3 separate regions of the Homo sapiens genome follow, and all the other regions are linked to region 1. The links are contacts of gene promoters, found by promoter capture Hi-C in human tissues and cell types (Jung and others, 2019). All regions are on one chromosome and are shown on one strand. The core of a region is centred on a gene start or on the middle of the fragment in contact, and the rest is flanking DNA. Distances in the headings are between cores, read along the strand shown. Region 1 holds the start of C11orf87 (chromosome 11 open reading frame 87). Region 2 has its middle 320 kb from the start of DDX10. Region 3 has its middle 340 kb from the start of C11orf87.

The links. The method cuts DNA at HindIII sites, captures the fragments that hold promoters and counts their contacts. A contact is called where the count stands out against the background at its distance.
Region 2: a contact is called between a fragment that was not itself captured here and the fragment with the promoter of C11orf87 in region 1, in 1 of the 25 tissues and cell types used here (dorsolateral prefrontal cortex).
Region 3: a fragment that was not itself captured here is called in contact with the fragment with the promoter of C11orf87 in region 1 in 1 of the 25 tissues and cell types used here (H1 embryonic stem cells).

The regions. Positions count from the first base shown.
Region 1 is chr11:109,420,183-109,424,208 of GRCh38, forward strand. It overlaps C11orf87 (chromosome 11 open reading frame 87), which reads left to right and starts at 2,008. Exons shown (of 2, transcript NM_207645.4): 1 at 2,008-2,081; 2 at 3,193-4,026. The coding sequence starts at 3,452. The HindIII fragment of the contact is 6,027 bases long and covers 1-3,854 here.
Region 2 is chr11:108,981,068-108,985,093 of GRCh38, forward strand. No RefSeq gene overlaps it. Among named protein-coding and RNA genes, the nearest start is that of DDX10, 320 kb to the left of the region's middle. The HindIII fragment of the contact is 6,435 bases long and covers 1-4,026 here.
Region 3 is chr11:109,083,860-109,087,885 of GRCh38, forward strand. No RefSeq gene overlaps it. Among named protein-coding and RNA genes, the nearest start is that of C11orf87, 340 kb to the right of the region's middle. The HindIII fragment of the contact is 9,594 bases long and covers 1-4,026 here.

The sequences.
Region 1 (4,026 bases), core at 758-3,257:
CTCCTGTCTCAGCCTCCCGAGTAGCTGGAATTACAGGTGCCTGTCACCATGCCCGGCTTTTATTTATTTATTTATTTATTTATTTATTTATTTATTTATTTATTTTGTTATTTTTAGTAGAGACAGGGTTTCACCATGTTGGCCAGGCTGACCTCTAACTCCTGACCTCAGGTGATCCACCTGCCTCAGCCTCCCAAAGTGCTGACATTACAGGCATGAGCCACCGTGCCTGGCCAAGAGTTAATTCTAATTGCATAAAAATTCTTTGCTTTACAAAATAACATTTTTTAAAAAATTTTTTATTTTTTGCTAAAGAGTCTCTTGAAATAGCCAGATCTCTTTTTGGAGAATCCAAAATTGGATTTGCTTTACAAAATGTTTATTAGACTCAACTTTTCAGGAGCAAAGCGAGTGTGAAAAAATGGGACATTGCCTGTCAGGCATCAATGGTAAAGTGTCACTTAGTCACAGCGTAAAAAATAAATAAATAAATAAAAAGGCTCACCATTCCATCCCCTAAGCCCACCAAAGTCAAATTGTCCAAATGTGGCAGGTGGCTATTGCAGGCATCTGGTGCTCTCATTCCAGTCAGGAAGGTGAGGCTAGCATTGGGGTGGGGGCGGGGGGCAGACATCAGTAACTGTATGACCCTAAACACAGAGTCCGAAGAAGGGACCCCCAGATTACAGACAGCCTTTCCTCCACATATCAGACCCTCTTTCTTTACAAATACAGCAAATACAAGCAGATAACTGGGCATCAGTCATTTCTGATGCATTGCAGGAAAGAGCAACAACATACACTGTATCATTCAATTTATCAAGTAAACTACAGGCACTGTGCTAGACTCAAAGATAGAAAAGAAGACAGGGAGCAAAGAAGAAAACGCACGTTTAGTAAGACACCTGAGTGCCTTCAAAGACCATGCAATGTCTTTAGGTACTGTTCCCAGCTAGCTTCTCCAACAGAAAAATGAGCATACTCCATTTCAAAGCTGGATTCTGTAACCAAATGCACTATTCATATTTTTCCAAGGCTCCTAAACCAATAGTTAACTAGTCTCTTCCAAGATTTAGGGAGGCTGTTGAATTCTTTTCTGGAAGTTCTATGTATTTTGCTAAAAGTTGTGCTCCAAACACTTTACCAAGAATTAGGGTCAATGAAGGGGTACTTTGTGCAAGCTACAAATACTTGGAATTTTCATAAGGCAGTTCATTTCTGCCTTCCTGTGAATAATTTCATATTTCTTCCTTGTAAGACTAGGGTTTGTGTGCTCATGAGTGTCTAGATTGTCAGAATAGAAGGAGTGTTTAATACATTGAGTGGGTCTGGGGCCTGGAGATGAAGATGTGAGGGATGCAAGAAGGAGGATCTTGAATCAGATGGAGCGAAAGATAACTTGGAAACTCCAGTGGAGAAAAATGGCTAATTTGGATTGTTTAATTTGTTCAGGTTTGTGTTTTGGGTTCTGTCACACTTATGTTGAGAAACGTCCCTGCCATCTCTCTAATGCACGCAGTTTATGTTCAGAAACGGGCAGCACAGAGAGGAATTAGCGGTGGGGGAAATTTTCATCACCACCGGTGATGTGTGCACCGATGGTAGATGGCTATCCAGAGTGTAAAAATGTGATTCTGGGACCAAAGGGTCAGCTCTAGAACGAAATCAGACAGCTGGAGAACTGAAGATTCAACTCTTCCTAGGCAAGAGAGTGAGAAAGGTGGGTTGCTTGCAGGGTGGAGGTAGGGGTTGCTCCTCCTAGTTCCTGGGCTGGAGAAGGGCAGGGAACTGGGAAGTGTGTGTCAGAGGCTCGCTATGCTAGGACAAGGTGTTGGGGTACTAGGGTGGGTGGGGGCCTGAGGGGTGGCTTGGAGCCCTGGCGGTGGCTGCCTGACGTCACCGGCCTCTCTGGCAATAGGCTGCGAGCTCAGCTCCCTGAAGCGGCGGCGAAGGCGGCGGCGGCGGCGGCGGCGGCGGCAGCAGCGCGGCTCGGTCTCTGGTCCATTCACTCCACGCTTTCTGCAGCCGCCACTGCAGCCGCGCGGCGGGGGCTCCCTCCTTGCAGCCAGCCGGCGGTCCAGGTAAGAGACAAGGTGTGAGTAAAGGCTTCTGATGGCCGGGTGGCCTGACGGCCAGGTGCGAGTGGGGAGGACAGCTCACGCGGCCTGAGCAGCCACCCCTGGCCATAGCTCCAGCCCCCGCCCCTGCCCCCGGCCCCTGCCCTGGCTTGCTTGCGCGCTACCTCGCTACTCCGCAGTGCAACAGTTTGCAGCTGCCTCTTGGGAGCAGCAAGGAGGCTCTCCTGTGCGCTGCGGGTCTACCGGCTCCAGTATGCCGGAAAAGCCTCGGGGCCTTTGGGCTGGGTCTGGGAAGGACAGAAAGAAGGTCCCGTTCCCCAAACTTTGCAGGCGGGAACCCTCCCCTTTCCATTCCAGCTCCTCTAGAAAGAAGCAGGCTACTGCCAAGTTGGGGGCACAGGGAAATGGGGAGGAGGGGGCCGTTTGTGGGAATGTGTCAGCTGAGAAAGATGCTTCAGCTGCTTTTTTTTTTTTTTTTTTTTTTTTTTGGAGAGGGGAGAATACCAGGGAAGAAGGCTGGAGAAGAGATGGAGCGCGTTCCTGCGCGTCAGCCGCGGTCGCGGACAGAGGCAGAGTGGGATGTGGTGCCAGGGGTATCCCCCTGGGAATGGGACCCAAGGGATCTGACGCTGTCCAGGGAGGGCGAGTCTGGACGGGGAGGGAAAGGAAGGGAGGACTGCGTACCCGGAGCCCGCGCGGCGGCCCGGAGTGGGTGCTGGGAAGGGTAGGATCCAGGCGAAGACATCAACCGAGAGGGCGCAGAAAAGAGGAGAGCCGGCGCTCTGGGAAGTAGGGACTTCAACCAAAGCGGCTGCGTGTCTGTTGCAATTATAAAGTTGTGAAGGGCGGAAGGGAGGCTGCCTTATCTGCTGAGTAATCTGCACCTCCGCGGTGCCGGCGCAGACCCCATCCTGTCGAGTGGCATGAGCAGGCTGCTGGTGGCTCTGGTGCACGGCCACGGGCCGGCAGGCTGGGGTCCGCTGACCGAAAATACAGGCAGCGCCCAGCTCAGGCAGTGTGCCCAGAGGGCCGCTTTGCGGTGGTGGTTGATCTTTCCCGACAGCACTCCCCTGGGCAGCGGCCGAGATTCTAACTAAGCTTTGTGTCTTTGCAGCCTGGTGCCTCTGCAAAGGAAAGGGGAGCGTGGAGACGTGTTCGAGGTGGTATCGGCGAGGATCTCTCGGGCGCCGCTCACTCCTTGGTCGCCTTGCTTGCCAGCAGTTGCTCCCTTAGTCCTTGGCTCGCTCGCACACCCCCTCCCGCTACAGGGAGCAGTTTTGGGTGGCGTGGGCTCCGTCCTCTTCTTGGCTGGTAGGAACGGTGTGCCCAAGAGGGGAAGCCTAGTGGGCCTGGCCCCTCCCAGCCCCGCGCCAATGAGTGCCAGGGCGCCGAAGGAGCTGAGGCTGGCGTTGCCGCCGTGTCTCCTCAACCGGACCTTTGCTTCCCCCAACGCCAGCGGCAGCGGCAACACGGGTGCCCGCGGCCCAGGCGCAGTAGGCAGCGGCACCTGCATCACGCAGGTGGGACAGCAGCTCTTCCAGTCCTTCTCCTCCACGCTGGTGCTGATTGTCCTGGTTACCCTCATCTTCTGCCTCATCGTGCTGTCCCTCTCCACTTTCCACATCCACAAGCGTAGGATGAAGAAGCGGAAGATGCAGAGGGCTCAGGAGGAATATGAGCGGGATCACTGCAGCGGCAGCCGCGGTGGCGGGGGGCTGCCCCGACCTGGCAGGCAGGCCCCAACCCACGCAAAGGAAACCCGGCTGGAGAGGCAGCCCCGGGACTCTCCCTTCTGCGCCCCTTCCAACGCCTCGTCGTTGTCCTCTTCGTCCCCTGGCCTCCCGTGCCAGGGTCCCTGTGCTCCTCCGCCTCCACCGCCAGCCTCCAGTCCCCAAGGAGCACACGCAGCTTCCTCCTGTTTGGACACAGCTGGCGAGGGCCTTTTGCA
Region 2 (4,026 bases), core at 716-3,215, 440 kb before region 1:
GGCCTGGGTGACATCTGACAGGTAAAGTGAACCCAGGGTAGTTTAAGAAGGGCCAGACGCCACCTGTAGTGACACTAGGACTTGATTAGTCAATTGCTCCTGAAATCAGTAAAAGATCTTAAAAAATAAACAGGTTTCCCAGTCTTTGGGAAAAAACGCACAGTGAATAAATCCTCTGAATGCAGTATTTGCTTTAGGAAAATCCCAGAGACTCATGAGGCTCACCAGTATTTGTACTCTCTTTTTCTTGCTGGGCTGTGGCTGGACTATATTTTCCAGCCATCATCGCTATTAGGTAAATAGGTGAGGAGGCACGTAACTGAGTTTAGGCCAATATAATATGAGTGGAAGAGTGGATGAGGCCTATTTCCAGCCCTGATCCATAAGAACCTACCATTTCTGATCATCTTTCTCTCCTCCAGTTTACCAGTGGGCTGGAGAGGATTCCAAAGAGATGGGGTCCTAGGATGCAAGGCGTCTGGGTCTTTGCATGACCATGTGTTCTTGTCTTGTGAAATGATGATCCTGTCTTGTAAGAAACAGAGCATAATGGTATGGCACCACTGAGATTTGGGGGTTGTCACTCTAGCAGCTAGCTTTATTTACCCTCATACAGTTTGATATGGTTTGGCTGTGTCCCCACCCAAATCTCATCTTGAATTGAAGCTCCCATAATTCCCATGTGTTGTGGGAGGGACCGGTGGGAGATAATTGAATCATGGGGGTTGTTTCACCCATACTGTTCTCATGGTAGTGAATAAGTCTCACGAGATCTGATGGTTTTATAAGGGGAAACCCCTTTGACTTGGTTCTCATTCTTTCTTGCCACTGCCATGTAAAAATTGTCTTTCACCTTCCACCATGATTGTGAGGCCTCCCCAGCCATGAGGAACTGTGAGTCCACTAAACCTCTTTTCTTTATAAATTACATAGTCTCAGATATGTCTTTATCAGGAGCATGAAAACAGACTAATACATGGTTTATTTAAGATTATACTTTGTTCACATGCTGCAAATGGATGTCCCAATTCTGGGTAGATAGTATAGGTGAATGTGATAACATCTTGTATTTCAATGTGTACTCTTTTTTCCTTTTGGTCAAGGCCATTGGTGATTGGTTGTTTTGTTGTAAGAAGGCTTCAAAAGTCATTCATTTTAAGTATGTTTCTCACCCATATCTGTTCTCTACTCTCATCCCTCACCCTTCCACATTTTGATGGCCTTACTGTCATCAAAGTGGCATTGGATTTATACTGTGTTGTTAAAGGATGAAGAATCTTAGATTTCTAAGCTGTGGGGAAATTAATAAAATATCAAAAATTGAAACCAAGGATGATGTAACCCTAAAGAATAGTTCTCTTTTGAATACATCTTTTCAGTTTCTTTCTAATACACAAACTTACATACATATACATCCAGTTATTGATAACAGTATTAGCTAGAATTTATTGAGTGATTGCTGCATGTTGGGCATTTTTAAATTTTAAATATTTTTAATTCTCAGAGTAGCTCTGTAAAATGGGCATTGTTATTCTCATTTTCAAATAGGGAAGCTGGGGTTCAGAGTCATAAATTTGTCTAAGATGACACAGCAGCAATGCACTCAAATCCATACCTGCTCTGACCCAGATCTTGCCTGTTGTCTTATATTACCCTATAGTGTGTTATCTTTATTCTGTGGATAGAAATTTTTGGAGCCTCTGGCTAGAGACCTTGACCCTGGGATTGGTGACCCTCCCTTTCCATGACTTGTCCAATAAAAAGGCACAAGACTCTCTAGACCAGCAGACTCTACATAGGCCTCTCTGAAGGGTCTCAAATCAGGCCCAGAGAGTTTTGTACCTGCCTGTCCCATCTATTGCATTGTCTACCTTCAGCATCCATGAGTTCCTGAGTGCATTTTTGTTAGGACCTTGGTCCCAAGCAGATTCAGATTCCTGTCTTTCAAGGGCACTGGAATGGCTAGGATGGGAAAATGACAGCCTCTTTGGGGCCAGTGATGGTCCAGTAGAGGGGCACAAGAGGAAAGATGATTAGAAGGTGAAATAGAGAGGATACATTGGTCACTGTGCAGGTAAGGCAGGTTGGGGGGAAAGGGGGAGTCATGGGTGTTGCCAGGTTTTTGCCTTGGGCCACTGGGTAGGCAGCATACACAGGAAAGGACCAGCCTTAAGGGCAAATATAAAGGAAGCTGGCATCCATGTGTGCTTCCCATATACCACCCTTTCTTGAGATGTTACACAACTTCCTGTAGGCTTTTCTGGACCACATTATCAGGGAAGAGTTTGCAGTGGCCCTCAGGACCCTTTACTGAATTTTAACCAATTGTAACATAAAAGCTAAAAGATGGATTGGTTCATGTTTTTCATCACACAATGTGTCTGTGTTTCATGAAGCTCATTTATGGCAACGTGTACCTTTGCTGGCTGCCATGAGTGTTTTTCTTCTGTGAATATTGTTTCTTTACATATTTATATTTATCACATTTAATCACACATACAAGGCATTCTCCAAAATAGTTTCTTAAAAGGCAACTTAGAGACATATTTGGAAATGAAATTGAGAGGCAATTTTTTTTTTTTTAGCTTTTGCTTTTTATGTAACGGGACTAATTTTTCTCGAGCCTTGATTGTCTCAGCCACTGGTTCCCATACACAACTGCTCATCAAGATCACCTGGGAAGCTTTTAATAGACACAGTTTCTTGCCATGACACCCTCTCCCAGGGGGTTCTGATTCACTGGGGATGTGGCCTCTGCAATTTAAGTTCGTCAGAAAATTCCGATGAGCAGGCAGGTTTGGGAATCACTCATCCGAGCCACAGTCTCCAGATTTATAACCCTAGCTTTGGATGCATCAGCATTTTATTTTCTTTGAAGAATACATGGGCATTTTAGGGTAGAAGTAAATGGTGTTTATTAACAAAAACTAATATTAAATTACTGCATACTTGCTATTGGGATAGGTTCTTTTTAAATAATTATCTTACTTAATGTTATCCTCACTGATAAGTTATAGAGCATCTTCATGTTCCAAAGCCAAGAAAATGGAAACTAAAAGAGGCTGAAGAAATCTTTGAATGACTAGTTCAGGTGATCAAGTGGAGGAATGTAGTTAGAACTGAAATATTTCTGACTCTAAAAGGAAGCCTGTCTCTGAGCCACTACCCTGGGTTGCCAGTTTGTGGGATTAGTGATGCTTCCAGAATTTCTCAGTTGCTTTTTGCCCTTTGGAGAAAAGATGCCTTCCTCTGTTATGAGTGGGAGGGCAGTAAGTCAAGGCAAACACATCCTACAATTGCTGAGCGCTCTAGTGAAGAAAAATGTTGTTATTTCCCTGCCAAAAGAACTAGAGAGAAGAAGATCCTTGTTAGGAAAGACAAAAGCAGAGAACAAAAGCAAAACACAGAATGATGCTTTCCTCCTAGACACTTGAACCCACTAAGATCTTTTATTCTTATCTTTTTATCAGAGTCAGGATTGATTTAAGTTTATTAATGATAAATAACATCTTTTATTGCACAGTTAATGTATCCAGTGAAACTATACCCATATGATGCTTCTGTTTGCATTGTCATAAATCAATGAGAGACTGTTAATAGTAGCACTGGCTTAATCACTCTGATGCCTCTTGTTGCTAATGGGGATTGTAAAAATAGAGGTGTGAAGCAATGTGTTTTCTGAAACTTGTCAGGCTTGAATGGAGCAGAAGCATGGGCCTGGAAAGCAAGACCCATAACAGCCTTTGGGATGAGGATGTGATGATAACAGCTTCCATCACTTTGCTTTTGCATGGCTGTTTATGAAGCATTTTCCTTTAACCTTCCAAGAGTCCTGGAAGGCAGGAGTTTTGTCCTCCACCCTACAGGTGAGGAGACCTAGGCAGACTCCTGGTCCAGAGCTTTCTCCTCACTCTGGGCCCAGACGGACCTGTGCCACTTACATTTGTTCTTTGGAGCCCACTGATGCTTCCCAAAGACTTCTGGAGCCTGCAGTTTTTCAAAGGGCCAGATGCAAAATGAGGTAGG
Region 3 (4,026 bases), core at 1,076-3,575, 340 kb before region 1:
AGGACCCTCCAAGCCAGGTGCGGGATATAATCTCCTGGTGTGCCATTTTTTAAGCCTGTTGGAAAAGCGCAGTATTAGGGTGGGAGTGACCTGATTTTCCAGGTACCGTCTGTCACCCCTTTCTTTGACTAGGAAAGGGAACTCCCTGATCCCTTGTGCTTCCCGAGTGAGGCAATGCCTCGCCCTGCTTCGGCTGGCACATGGTGTGCTGCACCCACTGTCCTGCACCCACTGTCTGTCACTCCCTAGTGAGATGAACCCGGTACCTCAGATGGAAATGCAGAAATCACCCGTCTTCTGCGTCGCTGATGCTGGGAGCTGTAGACTGGAGCTCTTCCTATTCAGCCATCTTGGCTGCCCTCATTATTTGAATAAATATTCACTAAGTCCCAAGCTCTGAGAAAATAAAGCTTTCTGTTAAGTATAGAATATAGAATATACTGTATATATAGTATAGAATATATATGTATATATAATATAGGGCTTTTCTGTATTCTATACTGACAATTTTCTTTTTTTGTTTTTCATTTTTAACTTCTTTTTACATTATTATTATACTTCTAGGGTACATGTGTCCAACGTGCAGGTTTGATACATAGGTATACATGTGCCATGTTGGTTTGCTGAACACATCAACTCATCATTTACTCTAGGTATTTCTCCTAATGCTATCCCTCCCCCAGCCCCCCACTCCCCAACAGGCCCCGCTGTGTGATGTCCCCCACCCTGTGTCCAGGCGTTCTCATTGTTCAATTCCCACCTATGAGTGAGAGCATGCAGTGTTTCATTTTCTGTCCTTGTGATAGTTTGCTGAGAATGATGGTTTCCAGCTTCATCCATGTCCCTGCAAAGGACATGAACTCATCCCTTTTTTATGGCTGCATAGAATTCCATGGTGTATGTGTGCCACATTTTCTTAATCAAGTCTATCATTGATGGACATTTGGGTTGGTTCCAAGTCTTTGCTATTGTGAATATTGCCACAATAAACATACGTGTGCATGTGTCTTTATAGTAGCATGATTCGTAATCCTTTGGGTATATACCCAGTAATGGGATGGCTGGGTCAAATGGTAATTCTAGTTCTAGATCCTTGAGGAATCTCCACACTGTCTTCCACAATGGTTGAACTAATTTACACTGCCACCAACAGTGTAAAAGCGTTCGTATTTCCTCCACATCCTCTCCAGCATCTGTTGTTTCCTGAGTTTTTAGTGATTGCCATTCTAACTGGTATGAGATGCTATCTCACTGTGGTTTTGATTTGCATTTCTCTGATGACCAGTGATGATGAGCATTTTTTCATGGTCTGTTGGCTGCATAGCTGTCTTCTTTTGAGAAGTGTCTGTTCCTACCCTTTGTCCGCTTTTTGATGGGGTTATTTGTTTTTTTCTTGTAAATTTGTTTGAGTTCTTTGTAGATTCTGGATATTAGCCCTTTGTCAGATGGGCAGATTGCAAAAATTTTCTTCAATTCTGTAGGTTGCCTGTTCACTCTGATGGTAGTTTCTTTTGCTGTGCAGAAGCTCTTTAGTTTAATTAGATCCCATTTGTCTATTTTGGCTTTTGTTGCCATTGCTTTTGGTGTTTGTCATGAAGTCCTTGCCCATGCCTATGTTCTGAATGGTATTGCCTAGGTTTTCTTCTAGGGTTTTTATGGTTTTAGGTCTAACATTTAAGTCTTTAATCCATCTTGAATTAATTTTTGTATAAAGTGTAAGGAAGGGATCCAGTTTCAGCTCTCTACATATGGCTAGCCCTATACTGGCAATTTTCAAGATGAGAAGGCACACCTATAGAGGCTTAGCCCAGGAGCTTTGATGGAGACCTCAGTGGCAATGACCAAAAAAAAACAAAAACAAAACAAAAAAAAAACCAAAACGGGTGCAAAATTAGGCCCAAGTGCCTGTATCTCAGCCTCAAACCTCTTGTCCTTTTGATCCCATAGGTTTTTAACTGACTTTACAGGGATTTTTTTTTTTTTTTGCCTTGTCCATTGAAATTCTGGAAACCTCTATCAGGAAAGGAAACTGACATTTCCCAGCAGACATTTTCCACAGCTTTGACTGTGGCCTATGCCAGGCATGGCCTGAGACATATTACTGCAAGCATTGTACAGGAGAAATTGTTGGGACTTGATTTTCTTTTTCATGTCTCTCAACTTTTTTTAACTTTCTCATAGGCTTTTGACTCGTTATTTTCTGACTTGGGATAGACATATTCTAATCCACCACGTGGCTCAGTTAGGACTTTTTGCTTTCGATTTTCTTGATGACCTCATTCTTTGGCCACGATGTCTTCTTGCTGAGTATCTGGATCTGCTCTTTGGGCTTTCTGATGCCAGATTGCTTGTTTGGTTTCACAGTCCTAACTCCATCTGCAGTTTTGGCTTCTGGGCCCCTCTGGCCTCTGGCCCTATAACCTGAACCATGTTTTATTTTCAGTTTTGTTATGTTTTCCTGTCTTTTATCTGACAACTCTTACTGACCATTGTTCATGTAGAGGAGAAGTTATTTTGTAAATTTATAGCAGAAAAAATTATCAAAATACTAATTGATGAGGTTAAAACAAATCTTTTTGGTTAAACTCCTCAGTTTATTGATGAGAAAACAGGCTCCAAGAGGTTTAGTGAATTGTATCAACTGACAGAGAGAGTTAGTGACTGACTCAAATGTAGAAGCCAGGTCTCCTGACTTCTAGCTTGGTGTATTTTTTTTTTACTTTTGACTTAAAAAATTGTTTTTGATTGACAAATACAATTGTATATATTTATCATGTACAATATAATGTTTTGAAATATGTATACATTGTGGTATAGCCAAATTGAGCTAATAAGATATGCATTACCTGACATACTGGTCATTTTTTGTGGTATGAACACTTAAAATCTACTCTCCTGGCAACTGGCAAGAATATACTACATTGTAATTATAGTCACCATGTCATGCAGGAGTTATTACCCTTACCTGACTGAAATCAGGAATCCTTTAATCAACATCTCTTGGTGTTGTGTCCCCCCACAGTGTCCCCATGGTGTTACCTATTTTCCTTTTTTTAATTAGATTTTTTTCATTTTTAATTTTTGTGCATATATAGTAGGTGTATATGGGGTGCTTGAGATATTTTGATACAGGCATACAATGTGTAATAATCACATCAGGGTAAATGGGGTATCCATCATCTTAAGCATTTTTCCTTTCTTTGTGTTACAAACAATCCAATTATGCACTTTTAGTTATTTTAAAATGTACAATAAATTGTCAACTTTAGTCCCTCTATTGTGCCATCAAATATTAGATCTTATTCATTCCATCTAACTATATTTTTGTACCCATTAACCGTCCCCAATCCCCAACCCCCAACCCCCAACCCCCACTACCCTTCCCAGTCTCTGGTCACCATCCTTCTACACTCTAGCTCAATGAGTGAGTTCAGTTGTTTTAATTTTTAGCTCCTATAAATGAGTGAGAACATGCAAATTTGTCTTTTTTGCCTGACAAAATGTCTTTTAGTCCCATTAGTGTTGTTGTAAATAACAGAATCTATTTTTTTGACTGAATAGTTCTCCATTGTGTATATGTACCACATTTTCTTTATTCATTCATCTGTTGATGGATACTTAGGTAGCTTCCAAATCTTGGCTGTTGTAAACAGTGCTGCAGTAAATGTGGGAAGGTAGATATCTCTTAAACATACTGATTTGCTTTCTTTTGGATATATACCTAGCAGTGCGATTGCTGGATCATATAGTAGCTCTATTTTTAGTTCTTGAGGAACCTCCACGCTGTTCTCCATAGTGACTGTACTAATTTACATTCCCAGCAACTGCATATGAGGGTTCCCTTTTGTCCACATCCTCACCAGCATTTGTTCTTCCCGGTCTTTTGGATATAATCCATTTTAACTGGGGTGAGATGATATCTCATTGTAGTTTTGATTTGCATTTCTCTGATGATCAATGATGCCGAGTACCTTTTCATATACCTGTTTCCCATTTGTATGTCTTCTTTTGAGAAGTGTCTATTCA